Linked DNA regions of Homo sapiens: all the other regions are linked to region 3. Evidence: promoter capture Hi-C in human tissues and cell types (Jung and others, 2019). All regions are on one chromosome and are shown on one strand. The core of a region is centred on a gene start or on the middle of the fragment in contact, and the rest is flanking DNA. Distances in the headings are between cores, read along the strand shown. Region 1 has its middle 3.2 kb from the start of MAGEL2. Region 2 has its middle 23 kb from the start of MAGEL2. Region 3 holds the start of SNURF (SNRPN upstream open reading frame).

Region 1 (2,790 bases), core at 169-2,668, 1.3 Mb after region 3:
ACCTGCGTGTGGTATGGCCTGTCTGCAGTCTCGGCTACTCAGGAGGCTGATGCAGGAGAATGGCTTGAGCCCAGGAGTTTCAGACTGCCGTGAGCTATGATCATACCACTGCACTCCAGTCTGGGTGAGAGAGCAAGACCCTGCCTGGTGGTCAGCGGCAAAAAGAAAAAAAAAGAATGCAAGCTCTCACAACGAATAGATTGGGATTTAAATCTGAATTCTGATATGTATTGCTAGATCTTCTGAGCCTCAAATTCTTGCCATGTAAAATCAAGCCAAATACTTATGGATTTTGTGAGAAATCAATGAATAGAGTCTATTATACTCTGAGGATGGTATTTTATCAAATAATAAATTGTTGATAACTAGTAGTTACACTATTTTAATCCTTCCAATTCTTTTTTTTTCAAACCTCATACTTATGATATCTCCTATGCTTTTTAAATAATTTTTCTACTTAGACTGTCTATCTGGATCACATGAATCTTTCACAGCCTCAGGTTTGTTTTCTTTCTTTTCACTGCTACAATCAGCATCACAGCTCCCCTCACCCCATGTTCCAAGCAGAAGTGAGTATTTGATTATTTTCATCCTCTATGACCAATATGAGGTTTAAACAATGCGACAACACCTTATTGTACTAAAAAACCATATGAATATCCCTATATGACTAACAATAGATTCGTGAAATGTCCCTATGTGACTAACGATAGATTAGATTAATGTCCCTATGTGACTAACAATAGATGTAAATAGGACTTGCATCAGATTTTTCTCTGTAGTCTTATCTATAGCACAGTGCTGGGCATATAGTGAATGCTTAATAAAAGGTATTTCATAAATAAGTAATTTTAGAGTTTATGAAAATCATAACTGATTTTGTTACTCACTTATGAATATTTACACAAAGTCTAACAGCTACAGAAGATTGGAAGACAGGCAGTTCTGGTGCTAATCTTACCATTTCATTTTGTAGCTCCTTAGTGACCACTCAATGCGAGCTGGGGATACCAAGGTGAGCAAAACAGGCTCCCGTCTGCTCCTAGTTCCGCAATTTTCCTACTCCCATCACAATACTTCAGTTCTCCCTTCCCTGTTTTTAAAAATCATTTTGTATACTGCTGTTATATACTGACGTAAGCCATTAAAAGTCCTTTCTAATTAGGGAACAGAGGCCAACATTTCATGGATGTTTTGTATGTTTTTCCCTTTTGTTTTCTACTCACCTTGAATTTTCAAGCTGTTTCATATAAAAGTGAGGAAAGGGAATTTTGACAACACTTGGTTCAAAGGTGTTGAGGAGGAAGAACATATGCACAGAAAGGGAAAGAGGGCTTCAGGAAGCAGGAAGGTTTCACAGGAGTGATTTGGGAAGACCCAACACTTGTGGTCTAATGCCTCACTAGACTCAGGGCAATATTATGTTTTGCTGTGATTAAGGCAGTCAGTTTTCAAAAACGACCCGTATGTCCCTGTTTCCTCAGGTGAATTTTGCTCACAAGTAATTTGTAAATAGCTAGGGAGAGCCCCAGGAACAGCCTGGGTCTGAGAGCACTGACTATCTGAAATAAGCAGATGTTTCTTCCAGGGAGAATAAACTGGGTTTACCCTCTTTACTTGTTCCTATAGAATCAATGGATACATAATCTCTGATTTTTCCCTGCCGGTTAAAGAATGTTTCCAAGCAGTGGCAATAGTGCTGGTGTAGAAGTTATTCATCTTCCATTTCTAACTACTCCTACGCACCTGTTTTTTCCTTTGTATAATGCCTAATCTTTTCTTTCTGGCTTTGGTGTTGCCTCTTAACATAAACCGGACCTCTTTTCATAGAACAGATTCGGTGGGAGTTGACACTGTATGTCAGTGCTATTCACTGACCTCCAACATCAGTGAGAATAGCCAGACCCTAGTGGGAGCCATTCATTGTGTGGGATGACCAACAGCATGGTGGACGGCAGGACAAACCTGTCATAATTCCCGAAAATAAACGGTTAGTGGGAGAACTTAATCTCTGTGTAGTTTATACATTTGCATTAGAGTGGAAAAAAAGTATGCTTTAGAAATGCCCTAGGCTAAAAAATAAACTGATTTTTCCAAAGCCATCCATAGCCAGTAACAGCCATGTAGCAGAGTTGATAATAGCAGGTCCTGAGGGTTAGGCATTTAGAGTTTGTCCTTCTACAGTGTTTCCAAACCCCCATGAAACTGAGAAATCCTGTGTGGATCTGGGCCATTAACCCAAGGGAGAAACGAAAACCATGAAACACGGTAGTATCCATTCTGCAGAAGCTTTTTGTGTGCTGTGGTAGATGGCCTTCTCTGGGGATACACAGGAGTGATGTCCAGTAGTCCACCCTTATCCTTGGGGGATATATTCTGAGACCCCCCTGTGGAGGCCTGAAACTGGAAATAGTACTGAATCCTATATGTACTACGATGTTTTCAACTGATAGCCGAGACAGCTACTAAGTGAATAACAGGCGGGTAGCATATACAGCATGGATACACTAGACAAAGGGATAATTCATGCCCCAGGCAGGACGAAACAGAACAATTTCATAATACTACTCAGAATGGCATGCAATCTAAAGCTTATAAATTATTTCTGGAAATTTCCATTTAATTTTTTGGACTGCATTTGATTGCAGGTAACTGAAACCACACAATGTGAAACTGCAGGCACAGGAGTGCTACTGTATTCGCTACCTGCTCATTAACCACTTAGTAGCTGCTTCAGATATCAGATCTACCATCGGTTTCCCAGTGTTTGTGTTCAAGGAACCCTTGTTT
Region 2 (2,764 bases), core at 115-2,614, 1.3 Mb after region 3:
CACAAAGCAATTCGCAACAAATTCAAAATAAATGAAATCATCCCAACCACATGGTCAGACACAGTACGGTAAAAATAGAAATCAATACCAAGAAGATCTCTCAAAATCACACGATTACATGGAAATTAAAAAATCTACTACTGAATTTGGGTAAACAATAAAATTATGGCAAAAATCAAGACATTTTTTGAAACTAATGAAAACACAGATACAACATACCAGAATATCTGGGACACAGCTAAACAGTGTGAAGAGGAAAGTTTACAGCATTAAATGACTACATGTAAAAGTTAGAAATACCTCAAATTAACAAACTAAAATCACACCTAAAGGAACTAGAAAAGCAAGAGCGAACTGATGACAAGGGTAACAGAAGAAAATAAATAACCCAAATCAGAGCTGACCTGAATGAAATGTAGATGAGAAAAACCATGTAAAACATATCAAAGAAACCAAAAGCATGTTCGTTAAAATAATAAATAAGATTGGTAGACTGCTAGCTAGACAAAGAAAGTAAAAAGATCCGAATAAACACAATAAGAAATGACAAAGAGGACATTACTACTAATCCCAAAGAAATACAAAAAGTCCTCAGAGGCTATTATGAACACCTTTATGTACACAAACTAGAAAACCTAGAGGAAATGGTTAAATTCCTGGAATTGAATCTGGAAGAAATTGAAAACCTGAACATACCAATAATAAGTTTCAAAATTGAATCAGTAATTTAAAAAATACCAACCCCAAAAAGTCCTGGACCAGAGAGATTCACAGCTGAATTGTATCAGACATATAAAGAGATTCAGTAGTATCAATACTACTGAAACTATTCCAAAAAATAGAGGAGGAGGGACTCCTCCCTAACTCATTCTGTGATGCCAGCATTATTCTGATATCAAAACCTGGTAGAGACACAATGAAAAAAGAAAACTTCAGGCCAATATCCCTGATAAACATAGATGTAAAAATCCTCAACAAAATATAAGCAAAATGAATCCAGCAGCACATCAAAAGGATAATCCACCACAATCAAGTAGGCTTTATTCTTGGGGTGCCAAGTTGGTTCAACAGATGCAAATTTTAAAAAATGTGATTAATCACATAACCAACTAGAAACAAAAAACACATGATTATTTCAACAGATGTAGAAAAGACTCTCACTAAAATTCAACATCCCTTTATGTTAAAAGCCCTCAATCAACTAAGCATCGAAGGAACATACCTCAAAATAATAAGAACCATCTGTGACAAACCCACAGCCAACATCATACTGAATGGGCAAAAGCTGGAAGCATTCCCCTTGAGAACTGGAACAAAACAAGGATGCCCACTCTCACCATTTCTATTCAACATAGTACTGGAAGTCCCAGCTAGAGCAATGAGGAAAGAGAAAGCAATAAAAGGCTCCAAATAAGAAGAAAAGAAGTCAAACTATCTCTCTTCACAGATTGTATGATTCTATACCTAAGGAAACGCCATGTTATCTGTCCAAAGCTTCCTAGGTCTCATAAACAACTTAAACAAAGTTTTAGGATACAAAATCAATGTACAAAAATCAGTAGTATTTTTATATACCAATAACATCCAATCTGAGAGCCAAATCAACAACACAATCCCCTTCACATTAGACATACAAAAAATATAATATATATAGAAATCCAGCTAACCAGGGAGGTGAAAGACCTTTACAACACGAATTAAAAAACACTGCTGAAAGAAATCAGAGACAACACAAATGGAAAAACATTTCATGCTCATGGATAGGAAGAATCAATATTGTTAAAATGGCCATACTACCCAAAACAATTTATAGATTCAATGCTTTTCCTATCCAACTACCGAGGACATTTTTCACAGAATTAGAAAAAAACTATTCCAAAATTCATATGGAACAGAAAAGAGCCCAAATAGCCAAGGCAATCCCAAGCAAAAAGTACAAAGCTAGAGGCATCACTCTACCCAACTTCAAACTATACTGCAAGGCTACAGTAACCAAAACATCATGGTACTGACACAAAAACAGATACAAAGATCAACAGAACAGGTTAGGGAATCCAGAAATAAAGCCATATACTTATTTTTACAAATGTGAGAAAATATTTACAAAATATGCATCCAACAAAGGCCCAATATCCAGAGTCTATAAGGAACTTAAGCAAATCAACATGTTAAAAACAATCTCATTTAAAAATGCTGAAAGAACATGAACAGACATTTCTCAAAATAAGACATACACGTGGCCAGCAAGGATATGAAAAACTGCTCAACATCACTAATCATCAAAGAAATACAAATTAAAACATCAATGACATACTATCTCATACCAGTCAGAATGGCTATTATTAAAAAGTAAAAAAAACAAACAAACAAAAAAAAGCACATGTTGATGATGTTGCAGAGAAAAAGGATGGCTATTGAGGATATAAATTAGTTCAGCCATTGTGGAAAGCAGTTTGAAGATTTCTCAAAAAGCTTAAAACAGAACTACCATTGGATCCAGCAATCCCATTACTGAGTATATACCCAAAAGAATATAAATTTTTTTACCATAAAGGCATATGCATGTGTATGTTCATCATAACACTATTCACAATACAAAGACATGGAATCAACCTAGATGTCCATCAACTGTGGACTGGATAAAGAAAATGTGGTACATATACACCATGGAATACTATGCAGCCATAAAAAAGAACAAGATAATGCCCTTTGCAGCAACATGGATGGAGCTGGAAGTCATTATCCTAAGCAAACTAACACAGCA
Region 3 (2,700 bases), core at 159-2,658:
CCCACTGGCGGCTCTACAGGGAGGAAGCGGCCACCCCCCCGCTGAAGCGCTTGCGCAGATCTAAGCCGCTGCAGCGGCGGCCATCTTGAAGGAGCTGCACAATGGCAGTGACGCAACACAGACCCCCAGGTTATTTCGACATAGCCTTCCAAGACCTGGTTCCCAACAGAGAGAAACAATGAAAAAAAAGTAACCCCCAGGCATCACCTGGCCTATCAGTCAAAAGATCTGTAAATGCAAGTTCTGCACATCATTCCAGTCTTCTTATGCCATAGCCTCTAAAGCGAGGGTTCCTAAAGGGTACGCAAGGATTCCACGCATTTCTGCAGCCCCTGCGGCAGTGTAGGCATTGCGCAGTTTTAATAAAAAAGCACCACCACCACAGTAGGCAAACCAGATGACCATCGCAGGTCACAGGAAAATTAAAGGCTGCGGACTGTGCTACTGCCCCTTCTGATGCCCCCTCCTCTACACAGCAATCATTCAGCGTCCCTTAGTCACTCCGGACAGCGACAGGCCCCGCGGCCGCCATGCCCACCGCCTCCATGCCATGCCCACCGCCGCCATGCCTACCGCCGCCAAAGTCCACCACCGCCATGCCTACCCGCTGCCAATGCCCACCGCCGCCAATACCCACTGTCGCCGCCTTCCCCCTACCTCCCAGCCACTTCCTACGGACTCTCCCCGCGCCGCGACCACCAACACAACCCCCACCACTGTCACACCGACTCATCCCCCTGGTCCACTGCCATAGCCTCCTCGCCTCGGTCACTGCGACGAATTCCCCCCCCAGTCGCCCCACGTACCCTGCTCCACCACGCAGTGGTCACTATTATACACCTACCTGCGCTCAACACCCCCTAAATACCGATCACTTCACGTACCTTCGCCCCGCCACAATCACTCCAATATACCTACCTCCGCCTAAAATCCCTATGCACTGGTCCCCCCACGTACCCTCGCCACACGGAACTGCAATCACCCTGATGTACCCACCTCCACCCATGTCCCTTGCCCACTGCGGTTACCCCGCATGCTCCCAGTCACCACCGCCCTTCCCACCGCAGACACCCGCAATAGGACCTGTCGCGACACCACAGTTGGGGGCGGATGGGGGACGCGCCCCAATGCGAGCGGACAGGATACCATCGGGGCAGAACGGCACAACAGCAAGCCTCTGAACATTCCGGATCTGGTTCTCCAGAACAAAGGACTTTAGGGCCCAAATTCCGTTTATTCAGTACTCCAAGTCCTAAAAACTTGGAATATCTGATGAATAAAAGTGGCCGCTCCCCAGGCTGTCTCTTGAGAGAAGCCACCGGCACAGCTGACCTTGCCCGCTCCATCGCGTCACTGACCGCTCCTCAGACAGATGCGTCAGGCATCTCCGGCGGCCGCTCCACTCTGCGCCAGACTCGCTGCAGCAGCGGCAGGCTTCGCACACATCCCCGCCTGAGCATGCGCGCCAGCCTGCCTCTGCGGCCGCGCAGGCGTGCTTGTTTGCCGCAGTGCAGGGGTCCCAGCTCCCTCCCTCACCGGAATGACCTGGGGGGAGGGGGCTACTGGACCCCTAGGGCCCCACAGCACTGTTGCAATGAGAGGGGGCCTCTAGAAACCATAAGCAACCTGGGATCAATGGACATGTCTACCTGTTTTTTAAAATGTGTAAAATACTAAAGAAATAATTCTTGGTTCTACAATAAATTTTTGCACACACCACTGGCCAAACAATCCTAATTTACACTCACCCTCAGGTCTTCCTATGTGCGGTACAAAAAAGCTGGTTTGGAAAAGTTAAATGCGCCATAACCACAATCAATGCAAATACGCCAGACTTGAAATCCTTCCAAAAGAAAATATCCCTAACTCTAAAAGCATGCTACATTGTTCAAATTTGGTGCGATTTTTCTACCCTTTTTCTACTTTCTACATTTTGAGGGGGTAAATTGTGAAAATTATCTCCCCCAAAATCACAATATAATTAAACTCTCCTATACGGAATGGATAGATCATTCAACTCAAAAACACTGGCTATTCAATTTTTGTAAAACAAAAATATGAACTTAGACCCCCACCTAAGATCTAAGTAGGAGAGCCTTTCTTTGCCTATTAGAATTGGATACATTAAAATTTTTACCAATAATCAATGATAGCTGGAGTGGGGAGAAACAGGCACTTTTATATAATACTAATGGACAAGTAAACATTATTTACGACATAATATTCTATCTGCAGAAATAACGGAAGCATCAGTAACTCCAAAATTTAGACGCTGATGTAGCTTGGGAAAAGACACTGCAGAAAAGAAGAAAATAATCCTGAAACTGCATCTGCATAGTTTTTACACACATTTGCCCTTTCTCAATTGCCCATTATCGAAGAAGGGAGGGTGATGTGAGTGGAGGTTGACTAAATGGTTAAATCCCCTCCCAAGCCCTGTAAGCTACTGCTCAGTTCCCAATGATCCTACATTAAAACAGGTGCGCAGAGGCTTATCAATGCTGACTTCTATCGTAACAAAATCTCAGAAACTGTGTAATGTTCCTCACAGAGAACAGATAGGCTAACTAAATAAACGTATATATAAATAATAACATGCAATATGGCTGATGGAAAAAATGATGTATTAGGCTGAATCATATAAAATTGTCAATATTGAATTGTTTTGACCTACAAAAACATTGCAATTTCTAATAGTTC

Evidence for each region. Contacts are between HindIII fragments. The study calls those that stand out against the background at their distance.
Region 1: a fragment that was not itself captured here is called in contact with the fragment with the promoter of SNURF in region 3 in 1 of the 25 tissues and cell types used here (dorsolateral prefrontal cortex).
Region 2: a fragment that was not itself captured here is called in contact with the fragment with the promoter of SNURF in region 3 in 1 of the 25 tissues and cell types used here (dorsolateral prefrontal cortex).

The regions. Positions count from the first base shown.
Region 1 is chr15:23,649,659-23,652,448 of GRCh38, reverse strand. No RefSeq gene overlaps it. Among named protein-coding and RNA genes, the nearest start is that of MAGEL2, 3.2 kb to the right of the region's middle. The HindIII fragment of the contact is 3,194 bases long and covers 1-2,790 here.
Region 2 is chr15:23,623,266-23,626,029 of GRCh38, reverse strand. No RefSeq gene overlaps it. Among named protein-coding and RNA genes, the nearest start is that of MAGEL2, 23 kb to the left of the region's middle. The HindIII fragment of the contact is 3,876 bases long and covers 1-2,764 here.
Region 3 is chr15:24,953,695-24,956,394 of GRCh38, reverse strand. SNURF (SNRPN upstream open reading frame) reads right to left here and starts at 1,408. Exons shown (of 3, transcript NM_001394334.1): 1 at 1,333-1,408. The coding sequence starts at 1,346. SNRPN (small nuclear ribonucleoprotein polypeptide N) reads right to left here and starts at 1,408. Exons shown (of 10, transcript NM_003097.6): 1 at 1,333-1,408. All of the region lies in intron 4 of SNHG14 (small nucleolar RNA host gene 14), which reads right to left. RefSeq lists enhancers at 1-37, 1-427, 428-993. The HindIII fragment of the contact is 13,657 bases long and covers 1-2,700 here.